3 separate regions of the Homo sapiens genome follow, and regions 2 and 3 are each linked to region 1. Evidence: promoter capture Hi-C in 16 types of primary human blood cells and fetal thymus (Javierre and others, 2016). All regions are on one chromosome and are shown on one strand. Each heading gives the region's core, a stretch centred on a gene start or on the middle of the fragment in contact. The rest is flanking DNA. Distances are from core to core; before and after follow the strand shown. Region 1 holds the start of SPMIP11 (sperm microtubule inner protein 11). Region 2 holds the start of ZNF641 (zinc finger protein 641). Region 3 holds the start of DHH (desert hedgehog signaling molecule).

Region 1 (3,975 bases), core at 1,074-3,573:
GTGGAATAGAAAGGGGGGAAAGGTGGGGAAAAGATTGAGAAATCGGATGGTTGCCATGTCTGTGTAGAAAGAGGTAGACATGGGAGACTTTTCATTTTGTTCTGTACTAAGAAAAATTCTTCTGCCTTGGGATCCTGTTGATCTGTGACCTTACCCCCAACCCTGTGCTCTCTGAAACATGTGCTGTGTCCACTCAGGGTTAAATGGATTAAGGGCGGTACAAGATGTGCTTTGTTAAACAGATGCTTGAAGGCAGCATGCTCGTTAAGAGTCATCACCACTCCCTAATCTCAAGTACCCAGGGACACAAACACTGAGGAAGGCCGCAGGGTCCTCTGCCTAGGAAAACCAGAGACCTTTGTTCACTTGTTTATCTGCTGACCTTCCCTCCACTATTGTCCTATGACCCTGCCAAATCCCCCTCTGCGAGAAACACCCAAGAATGATCAATAAAAAAATAAAAATAAAAAAATAAAATAAAAAATTAGTTAGGCAAGGTGGCAGACACCTGTAATCCCAGCTACTCAGGGGGCTGAGGCAGAAGAATTGCTTGAACCCAGGAGGCGGAGGTTGCAGTGAGCTGAAAACGTGCCCCTGCACTCCAGCCTGGGCGACAGAGTGAGACTCCATCTCAAAAAAGACAAATCAAGCATCAGAACCAGACTCACATATGGCAGAAATTTTGGAATTATCAGACTGAGATTTTAAAATAACTATTAACATGTTAAGGACACTAATGGAAAAAGAGGACAACATTCAAGAACAAAGGATGGAAAAAGAGGACAACATTCAAGAACAAAGGGCAACGTAAGCAGAGAGATGAAAACTCTAAAGAATCAAAAGGAAATGCTAGAAATAAAAAACACTGTAACAGAAATGCAGAATGCCTTTGGTGGGCTCATCAGTAGACTGGGCATGACAAAGGAAAAAAATCAGTGAGCTTGAAAATATGTCAATAGGAAACTTCCCAAACGGAAAAACAAAGAGAAAAACGAATGAAAAAAGAGTGGAATATCCAGATGCAATGGAAGTAAATAAACTCATGAGCATAGATAAGAGTAAAATAATCAGGAAGAGATGACTTGTTAGTATTTACTACTTTTATTTTATTTTATGACAAGATCTGGCTCTATTGCCAGTCTGGAGTGCAATGGCACAATCTCAGCTCACTGCAACCTCCACCACACAGGCTCAAGCCATCCTCCCACCTCAGCCTCCCAAGTAGCTGAGACTACAGTCACGTACCACACCCAACTAATTTCTGTGGGTTTTATTTTTTTGTAGAGACAGGGTTTCACCATGGTGCCCAGCCTGATTTCAAACTTGTGAGCTCAAGAGATCCATCTGTCTCGGCCTCCCAAAGTGGTGGGATTACAGGTGTGAGACACCACACCCGATGTACTACCTTTATTTTTAATATAACATTCAATTGTAAGTTTAGTTAATTTGATTTTTAATAATGCCTTGTTTAACAACCAATTCACAAAATCAATGAAAATTTAACAAGCTTTCAAAAGTCACTATGGATTGGCACACCACTGCTGAAACAAAGACTCATTGAAAGTATCCTATTCAGATTTCTTTTTTTTCCTGAATATAAGGCTGGATAACTATTAACATTTAAATACTGGTGGGGCGTGGTGGCTCACACCTGTAATCCCAGCACTTTGGGAGGCCGAGGAGGGCAGATCACTTGAGGTCAGCAGTTCAAGACCAGGCTGGTCAACCCTGTCTCTACCAAAAATACAAAAATTAGCCAGGTGTAGTGGCGCGCCCCTGTAATCCCAGCTACTCGGAAGGCTGAGGCATGAGGATCTCTTGAAACCTGGAGGCAGAGGTTGCAGTGAGCCGAGAAAGCGCCATTGCGCTCCAGCCTGGGCAACAGAGGGAGACTCTTAAAAAAAAAAAAAAAAAAAAAATTTAAGTTTCCATTATGTGTTGAACACCGTTCTAAGGAAATATGCATATATTATCTCATTTGATTCTCATAACTGTCAGATATTGTCATTGTCATTTTTTTAATTTAAAATTGAAAATGGAGGCTTAGTTAATCTATTCAAAGTCAGACACCTAGAATATGGCATAACTAAGATATGAGCCCAGGTCGGTGCTCTTTCTACTCACTGCCTTCTGAAGCTTACACTGGAAGACTAGGTCAAGAAAAGGTGTACTGACAATTGATTCCTCCATTTTCCTGAAGTTATTTAGCCCACTCCCACTCCAGCTCCACTGTGAACCTATAAATCCTGTGCCTCATTAGACAAAGGGAGTGTCAGTTGTGGTAATTCTTAGGACATTACCATGGTTACCAGGCACAGAGTCCAGTGCCCCAACCTGGACGTTCCAGAAGAGGCCAGGGAGGATCTGAGATGGCCTTCTTCAACTTGTATCTATTGGGATATCAAAATTCCTTTCAGAACAAGAAAAGGAACACAACTGAAGAAACAAGTAAGGGGAATATAGGGTAGAGGGTTAGAAGGGCCACTTCTTTACCTAGATGCTTCATAGCCACTTCCTAGCTATTTATTTTCCTACCTGGGGTTAGAGATTTATCCTCCAAGGCCAACAGTTACACTAGTTAAAATTGTGGAATAGGGACAATATCCTTTCAGCTTTGCTCTCCTGTCATTTAATATCCTTATTAAGACACACAATTTGGGCCAGGTGCAGTAGCTCACATGCAATTCCAGCAGTTTGGGAGGCTAAGGCAGGAGGATTGCTTGAGTCCAGGAGTTCAAGACCAGCCTGGGCAACATAGTAAGACCACATCTCTATGAAAAGTTACACAAATTAGCTGGGTGTGGTGGTGCATGCCTGTGGTCCTAGCTACTTGGGAGGCTGAAGTGGGAGAATCACTTGAGCCCAGGAGGTCAAGGATGAAGTGAGCCATGATCACACCACCGTACTCCAGCCTGGGCGACAGAGCGAAACCATCTCAAAAAAAAAAAAAGACACACAATTTGTTCAACCAAATAAGTGTATTCTTAGTCATTCGTTGGCTCATTTAACCAACATTTGTTAAGCACCAGGCTTTATGTGCCTGGCATTATGTTGGTGACTAGGGTTAAGACCTCTGCTATAAAGTGACTATCTGATGAGAAAGATAAGTGTGCAAACAAAAATTGCAATATATTGTATGATTACATTAAATATGGAATGTTCTAGAGCCACTAAGAAGGAAGTACCTGATACTATTGGATTTGGAATAAGAACGGGGGAGTGGAGGATGGGGGAATCCTTCAGAGAAGACTTCACACAGGAAATGCTTCCAGAACTGGGTGTTAAAGGATGATTGGCGTTCACTAAAAAGGGGATGGCCGGGTGCGGTGGCTCACGCCTGTAATCCCAACACTTTGGGAGGCCGAGGCGGGCGGATCACGAGGTCAGGAGATCAAGACCATCCTGGCTAACACGGTGAAACCCCGTCTCTACTAAAAATACAAACAATTAGCCGAGCGTGATGGCGGGCGCCTGTAGTCCCAGCTACTTGGGAGGCTGAGGCAGGAGAATGGTGTGAACCCGGGAGGCGGAGCTTGCAGTGAGCTGAAATCGAGCCACTGCACTCCAGCCTGGGCGACAGAGCGAGACTCTGTCTCAAAAAAAAAAAAAAAAAAAAAAAAGAAGGGGATATAGCACAGACAAAGGAACAGAGACCTAAGAGAGAACCATATTAAGTGAATTCCAAGTTCGTGGGTACACATAAAGGGTAAAGTGGAGAGGTGCTGGGAGGCAGACGTTGAAAACTAGGAAGGGGCCAGATAATTGAGGATGCTGTTAGCCATGCTAAGCATTTTAACTTTATAGACAGCCATTGAATTTTTAGTAGGCAGTGAGCAGATCTACATTAGATTCAAAATGCCTAGCCATGCCTCACACATAATAGAGGTTGCATAAATATTTGTAGGGTGAATGGATGAATAACTAAGTTTGAATAACTGTAAAACAGGAAGCTAGGGGAGGCTTTACAGGAGATAT
Region 2 (3,975 bases), core at 565-3,064, 380 kb before region 1:
TACTAATGAATAAAAACAGAGGTCCCTTCTATCTCTATATAGGTCAAACAGAAAAAAATGGGTCTTGATTGCAAGAGAAGAGATTTAGGTTATTTTTTTTTAATTCTTAATAATCCTGCAGTGTACAATACCAGATAGTGGGCTCTTCTTTTTCTTTAGACAACTTAAGAGCAGGATGGGTCACACTTCTGTTGTGATAGGGCTTTATGGCAGAGAAATAATCTGAGACTCAGAATCTCTTTCTGTTTGGCAACATATTTTGGGTATTCTTATTCAATATCCAAACAGTCAGAGTCAGTGAAAGGCTTCCAAGAGCAGTCAGAAACTTGGTAACTATCCTGGCTTACTTACATCCTTTCAATAACACTTGCAAGAACCTTGAAGGCCAGGGTAGGTAATCACAGATGTCAAGTCGTCTATTTTCTTGCCTATTTGTCTTTGACAAAAGAGGTAGGTGGGAACCCTAAGCCCAATGCACAGGAAAAACAAATTCCCTTTTTATCTCAGAAGTCCAAAGATGGCTCAGGGCCTCATGGGAGCACCCTGGACTGATTCCCAGCCTAGGAGGTTTCCTTTTCAGAGACTTTTCATGAGAAAGGAAAATTCTTGCTAAAGCAATAAAGGGAAACTTCCATTTTAGCTCTCTTCTCTGAATTCCAGCTCTGTATCCACTTTTAACACACAGGGCACTAATTCTCCCTCTTCGTCCCATCTTTCTGGTTCTCTAGCTCCTGTGCAAATCCTCCCTGAAGGCTTTACCTCTAGCTACATATCTGGACACTTGTCTCAAACCCTTTCTCCATCTCCCCCAGGTAGCAGAGTCTCTTAATGGGAAGCCTCTTTGTGCAGAGCCCATTGGGCCAGCTGTAAGTTTTTCTATACCACTGACAGAAATCCGTGGAAGTGCTAGCAAAAATCTCAGCAAAGGATGGGATGGGTACCTGTCCTCAGCTTGCATTTCCTAAGATATTCACGCAGAGCCAGCACCTGGGCGGTTAAGGTGGTAGCCCTAACCTCGTTTCTCCTGGTTCCAGGATGATCCCATGCCCACTGCAGTGTGGGTTCTAGGGCTTTCATTTCCCCCTTTTCTTCACACATATGGGTAGCAAGGGACCTGCAAAAGGAAGTTTCTGCAGCCAGTGCTGATGAACAGAAAAGGGGCCATGTTATAAAAATGAGTAGCCCAAGGGCACACGGACGAGTTGGCTCCGTCCATCAGAGAACCCTGGCCCCTGCCACGGGTAGGGCATGGGCGGGACGGGAGCCTGCTCAGGGGTAAGGTTGCTTCTTCCCTTCTTCTTGTCACAGTGCCCCTGGAAAGGGTCAGATTTCAGAGAATCCGAGCAAGGCAGAACTGGAGCAGGGGAAGTGAGGTCAGAAAACAGGTTTCCCATGAGCTGGGGCATGAGCAAGTGAAGAGAAAGGGAGCCACGGGGTAACCTGTGCGCGAGTGACAGCGGCGGGAGCCCGCAGGGCCTGACAGTTGCGATGGGCACGGGGAGACAGGGCGAGAGGCGGGCACAGAATGTCAGCGGGGCAGACCCCCGGGAAAGGCAGCAACCCGGAAGACGCGCCGATCCTCCTCCCAGCCCCTATGGGTGACCGAGCCCCCACCAGCCGCCCCGGGAAGCCAGGCGTCCCTCCCTCCAGCCGCAGCTCCCTCCGGCCCGGCTCCACTCACCCCCGGTAGGCTTGGCCCGCGGCCCGGTGCCTCCCTCCCGGGCGCCGCCTGCCCCTCCCCTCCGCCCTCCGCTTGCGTCTGGGAGCCGGCGGCCGGCGGAGCCAGCGACAGGCGGAGACGGCGGCCCGGCAGGCGCGGGCGGGGCGGGGCGGGCACAGGAAATCCCCGCCCGCTTCCGGGGCTCTGCGGCGGCGGAGGTGCGGGGAGTGGGAGGGAGAGGAGTGGGAGGGAGAGGAGTGGGAGGGAGGGAGGGAGGGAGGGACGGGAGGGGGCGGGGCTGCGGCTCAGGCGCCCCCAAACGCGAACCCGGGACCTCCGCGCCCGCCGCTGTGGGGAGGGTGCGGCCCGAGACGCTTGGAGGGCGGCGGGCGCCGGAATCGCAGCCTGCTGTGGCCACTTGCCCGCACTCTTGCCTGACTGACCATTTTCCGCTCTGGCTACTGGGCCTCCCACGGAGTTCTGTCCTCAGGGTTCGTCAATTACCTGGAATTGCGTAACCGCCCGTTACAGGCCAGACCGAGGCCGAGAGCGATTTCTCCAGACAACAGTCTGGAATTCCTCAAGGAGCGTACCCTCTAGTTTTCACGATAGGATAAAGGGCTTGAGAGAGCACTGAGGAGGAGTCACTTATTCTGCCTGAGGGGAAGTCAGGTTGCTATCTGAAGTTGGCCTTGCGGCTGCTGTCCCATTTGCGGGAGCCGTAGCCGCAGGTGACACCTGAGCTCTCGAAATGTGGCTGGTCTGAATAGAGATGTGTTCCAAGATTTAGAAGATTTAATTTAAAAAGTGATATTTTGGGTATATTGGGTTAAATATATTAAAATTAATTTCACCTGGTTTTAACTTTTTAAATGTGGCTATAAATATGGCTTGCATTATATTTCTATTGGATAGTGCTACCTTGCAGCATTAAGATGGATTTGACTAGAAAAGATGAGAAGGGCCTACAAACAGTGAGTAAACCCATTGCTGTTAGAATCTGTTTATAACCTACAAGTCACATTCACATTCCTTATTTCATCATTACAACAATTTTCAAAAATTTTATTTAGTAGACTTAAAAAATAATTGACTCACTTAAGGTCATATGTGACAATCATTCGTTTAATGCATATTTATTTTCTACGTGTGCCAGACACTGTAACTAAATGCTGGGAGTTAAAGGATTCACAGTCTGGGGAAGCACATGTCAACAAATATTTGCAATAAAAACGTAGATTCTAAAACAGAGGAACGTACGCTGCACTTGAAGCAAAGAGAAGTGACCACGTATGGGACGGAGGTCAGAGAAGGCCCCCCACTCTGACAGAAATCGTGAGGCAGAGAAGAGTCAGGAGGGCTGTCTAATGAAAGAGGAAAATGCAGTAGACACGCAGTTGGGAAGAGTATAGAGCATATTCTAGGAGCAGATCATGGGATATGTCGGGGTAGTAGTAGAGCCAGAATTTTTATCCCGGGTCCTGGAACTAAGTCCAGGGGTTCTTTTCACTTATGCTACCACTGGTGGTAAATATAAGGTGCGTTAATTGGAGTAGGCTAGCAAAACCAGTATCTCGGGGCTTAACTCCATAAAGGCTTATGTTCATACAAGTCACAGTGTGGTAACAAGTTGGTTGGGGCCAGAGGGTGGGGTCTGTACTTCTTGAATTCATTGAAGGACCAGGCTTCTTGCATTTGGTGGTTCTCCCATGCCGAGGCCTTGGTAATGTAGTCAAATCTGTGGCCCTCAGATAAGGGAGGCTGGCCGTGGTTAACTTGTCAGAGATATTAGGGGCCAGTCCTGGAAGTGGTGTGTATCATTTTCACCCCATTCCCTTAGCCAGAACTCATGCGCATGGTCACATGGCCCTACCCAGAAGGGTGGCTGGGAAGTAAAGAATGTGTGCCTCATGGAAAAGGAAATGGGCGCTGCTGGACACAGCATTGCCTCGTCACACAGAGTTAAATTGAACATAACCAAGTACGTAAACCTGACTTTACCTGAAAAGAATGTTTGGAAAGAACTGATAGATATTATAATAGCCCAAACTCTCCTCGACTGTTTTGGGAAACAAATCAGTGTGAGATTGTTTCCAAAAAATAAAAAAAGCCAGGTGCAGTGTCTCATGCCTGTAATCCCAGCACTTTGGGAGGTAGAGGCGGGCGGATCACAAGGTCAGGAGTTCAAAACCAGCCTGGCCAACATAGTGAAACCCTGTCTCTAGCTGGGCATGGTGGTGCGTGCCTGTAGTCCCAGCTACTTGGGAGGCTGAGGCAGGAGAATCGCTTGAAACCAGGAGGTGGAAGTTGCAGTG
Region 3 (3,975 bases), core at 388-2,887, 370 kb after region 1:
GAAGTCCAGCTCTCAGATGTAAAATGAGGGTGGCAGTGGGGGTGGGGAGGGTTGGAGGAATGTCATCTCTCAAGTTTTCTTTCAGTTCTAACATTCAAGATCACTGGCCAGGCTGGATGAAGTGGCTCACACCTGTAATCCAGCACTTTGGGAGGCCGAGGTGGGAGGATCCCTTGAGCTCAGGAGTTCAAGACTAGCCTAGGCAACATGGCAAGACCCCGTCTCTACAAAAAATAAAAAATAAATCACTCGCCAGAGGTGGTCCTTCTCTTCCACCTCACTCTAGGTGGTTCCAATGCTCAAAAATGGTAGTTGAATTTATCCTAATTATGTAATTCCAAGGAAAGCCCCTGAGATAGGCAGAGCTTGGAAGACTTAGGAGCCCTCTGATTCTCAGGTGGGTCCATCTGTTATTCTCACTGAGGATTACTTTTTAACCCCAAGATTATCGTTTAGACCCTAGGATAGCCCTAGAATAGACCCTAGAATAGATGTGTCCTGGTTCTAGGACACGTTTCCCATGCCAAAAGCAATGTCTGCCCAGCCCCTCCTCAGGTAGATGGTCTGGTGACCTGACCCTTGGCCACCCCTGTCCCAGCCCTTTTCAGTCTCTTCTTTTCGGCCCACAGAGCTTTTCTACAATCAGGTCAGGAGCCAGGCTTCTGTCTGCTACCTAGCCAGCTCCTGGCCCCCAGCTCACCCCAGCCCTTCCTGCCTGGCTGGGTGGCTGACCCCCGGTCCACGCCTCAGCCATTTCCCGTCTCGCCTGCCGCCATCCTCCTTTCCCCGCCCTCGCTGCCTCTACCAGCTTCACTCTCACTAGTCAGTCCCTCCTCCCCTCCCCATCCCAGACTATTCTAGTCGGGAGCCGTCCTAATTACTCTGTCCAGACTGCAAGGATTTTTCCCCCCCCTGGGGCTGGTGACAAGGGAAATCTCTAAGGCTAAACTCTCTGTAGGTGAAGCTGGACTCACCCACCTGGGCTGCCATAGGAAAACGGAGGAGCTGGCAGTGCCCCGGCGCAGGTAGGGAGAGGCCCTCCTTACCTCGGTCATCAGGCGGTCGGCTCCACTGTTCTCCTCATCCTTGAAGATGATGTCGGGGTTGTAGTTGGGCACGAGGTCCCGGAAGCGCTCGGAGCCCCTTGCCACCCTCCCCTCCGCTGGCCCACTGGCGCCCAGGGTCCGCTCTGGCACGCCGGGCACAAATTGCTTGTAGAGTAGCGGCACGAGCTGCTTGCGCGCATAGCGGCGCCGGCCAACCGGCCCCCGGCCCGGCCCGCAGCTCTGGGCTGGCAGCGCCAGAAGTGCCAAGCAGCACAGGGGCAGTAGATTGGTCAGGAGAGCCATGGATACAGCGGACCTCGGCCAAAAGGGAGCGTTCTTGTCCTCACTAACTCTCCTGTCAGTTAGGCATCTCCACAGGCACCAGAGAGGGCAGCAGGCACAGCTGCCCCCAGAGTGCCCTAGAGCTCTTGTGGCTCCGTGCACCTGGCTGCTGCTAGCTCTGCCCACGTGCCCCGGGAGCGGGCGGGGGGTGTCTAGGACCTGCTACTGACAAACCATCATAGCAGGGAAGGGGGGTCGTGGGTGAGTGCCAGCCCAGCCCGTCTCTGCTGCAGGACTCTGGTGCTGCCAGAACGCCCGGACTCCGGACTCCGCCTTAAGTGGCCCCTGGCCCCGCCCTCCGCCCTTCTCCCAAGACCGTCCCACCCCCTCCCACCCGGGCGGGGGATCTAGCCGGTCACTGCTGGTCCATTTTGCGACTGAAGTGTGTCCCATCCTGGAAACCAGGCAGACACCTGCCTAGGAAATACTTGTAGCTTTACAGTCCTTGGCTGCCTAAACATCCTTCTACCTCCAAGCTTAAACTTGGAACCAAACCACCCTCCTCTGATACTTGAATTGGAATTTTTACTCTCTCAAAGCCTACCCTGGCAGGCCATGCCCTCCGCTGTCATCCAGGAAGTATGGGTTCCAATTTCTGCCCAAGACCAGCCAAGCCCTTTGGGCATACAACCAGAGCCTCCCTTCTCTGTAGTCCTCCCCAGATCTCCCCGACTTCCATCTCTCCTCACATTCAGCATTAAGCAGGACTGGGAGGTGAGGATACCAGGGGCCCATTTCTCTACTAACTTTGCAGTCTCCTTTGGAACTTCCCCAGAACCAGGAACAGAGCTTGGTACTTATTGTCTCATTTAGGACTTCCAACTTTTTTCCCCTTCTCTTCTTTGCCAGGCATCTAATAGCTGCTGTTTTTCAAATGAATGACTTCTCAGTTGGAAGCTGCTGAAGGGCAGTGGACACTCAAAAGTCTTTGTAAGAGGTGAGGATCACTTCCCTTAACCGTCCATCTAGGCACCTCTCCAGCTTTCTCCCTCTCTGGACTCCCGGGGCTCCATTTTCAGCCACTCAGATCTCATCTCAGAGGCACCACGTCCAATTTCTTTTGTTTAGAAGTCATTTCTTCTAAGAAGCCTTCCTTGATGTCCCAACACTGCCCACCTGTGTTCCCTCGAGAACCATTACTTAACTGCAGTGTTAGAACAGTATTAGAATTATCTGGCACCTTACTAGACAAAGCAATCTTAAGCACACACATATTTATCATGTATCTCCAAGGTTAAGTGCCTACTCTACAGAAGGGTGCTTTGCAAGCATTTGTGGAATCTACACTTTGTGTTTCATATTCACCCTCCCCTCACCACACTCTATGGCTAGTACTCATAGCAACTTTGTGTACATCAGAAAAAACCAGGCCAGGCACAGTGGCTCACTCCTGTAATCCCAACACTTTGGGGGCGAGGCAAGGACTGCTTGAGGCCATGAGTTGAAGACCAACTTGGTCAACATAGTGACACCCCGTTTCAAAAAAAAAAAATTAATTAGTGGGAGGTAGTGGTACATGCCTGTAGTCTTAGGTACTCAGGAGGCTGAGGAAGGAGGATCACTTGGGTGCAAGAGTTCAAGGCTGTAGAGTGAGCTAAGATCATGCCACTGCACTCTAACCTGGGTGACAGAGTGAGGACCCCCCCCCCCAAAAAAAAGATGGCTGGGTGTTGTGGCTAACCCCTGTAATTCCATCATTTGGGGAGTCCAAGGTAGGTGGATCACTTGAGCTCAGGAGTTCAAGACCAGCCCAGGCAACATGGCAAAACCCCATCTCTACTAAAAATACAAAAATTAGCCAGGCATGGTAGCATGTGTCTGTTGTCCTAGCTATTCTGGAGCCTGAGCTGGAAGAATGGCTTGAGCCCAGAATGCGGAGGTTGCAGTGAGCTGAGATTGCACCACTGCACTCCAGCCAGGGTGATAGAGCCAGACCTTGTCTCACAAAAAAAAAAAAAAAAAAAAGAAGAAGAAAAAAGAAAAAAAAAGCACCCCTTCCTCAAGATGACTGACATTTATTAGAAAACTATCATAGTAACTATCCACACAATGACTATGAGGTGAATGGTGTCCCTGGAAGCTGTGCAATACACAATCTGTATAAGCCTAAGTTTTGCGCTCTTACTCCCAACATAGCACATGGGCTTTTCAAGAAACTGATGGCCTCTAGTAAAAAGCTAGATTCTTCTCTCAGGTAGGAAATGAAAATCCTTGTCAGCCAGCCACTTATTTTACTCTATATCCAATAGTTAAGCCAGGGAGGATAGGGCTGAAGGTATGAGTGTATCGGGGAGGTTAGCCTACTCCTATGCCCATGTCCTACCCCCAATACTCAAGGTACAGAAACAAGGCCATGAATATAAGGAGGAGTCAGGGGACAAGCCAGCTTTAAGCAAGACTGAGGATGGAGGAGTTTCCCACTGCCCAACTGCATGGCCTAACACCAGATCCAAGTCCCCAAAGGATGGTAATAATATAGATGAAGGGGAAGGAAAAGGATGGTGGGCAGGACCCCTCTGCTTCTCTTACTGGGCAGACGCCGGGCTGGTGGGAGCAAGGCTGTTCAAATATACACAGAGACAGGTGC

Evidence for each region. Contacts are between HindIII fragments. The CHiCAGO score rates a contact against its expected background, and 5 or more counts as called.
Region 2: a contact is called between the fragment with the promoter of ZNF641 here and the fragment with the promoter of SPMIP11 in region 1, in 1 of 17 cell types (non-activated CD4 T cells). The highest score is 5.0, in non-activated CD4 T cells.
Region 3: a contact is called between the fragment with the promoter of DHH here and the fragment with the promoter of SPMIP11 in region 1, in 1 of 17 cell types (non-activated CD4 T cells). The highest score is 5.1, in non-activated CD4 T cells.

Annotation. Positions count from the first base shown.
Region 1 is chr12:48,725,112-48,729,086 of GRCh38, forward strand. It overlaps SPMIP11 (sperm microtubule inner protein 11), which reads left to right and starts at 2,324. Exons shown (of 4, transcript NM_001351123.2): 1 at 2,324-2,448. The coding sequence starts at 2,370. The HindIII fragment of the contact is 5,202 bases long and covers 2,135-3,975 here.
Region 2 is chr12:48,349,105-48,353,079 of GRCh38, forward strand. It overlaps ZNF641 (zinc finger protein 641), which reads right to left and starts at 1,815. Exons shown (of 6, transcript NM_001172681.2): 1 at 1,682-1,815. RefSeq lists enhancers at 1,326-1,395, 1,834-2,570 and silencers at 1,536-1,965, 2,246-2,325. The HindIII fragment of the contact is 6,093 bases long and covers 1-3,975 here.
Region 3 is chr12:49,093,164-49,097,138 of GRCh38, forward strand. DHH (desert hedgehog signaling molecule) reads right to left here and starts at 1,638. Exons shown (of 3, transcript NM_021044.4): 1 at 1,047-1,638. The coding sequence starts at 1,349. It overlaps DHH-AS1 (DHH antisense RNA 1), which reads left to right. Exons shown (of 4, transcript XR_007063295.1): 3 at 959-1,025; 4 at 2,238-2,581. The HindIII fragment of the contact is 10,631 bases long and covers 1-1,862 here.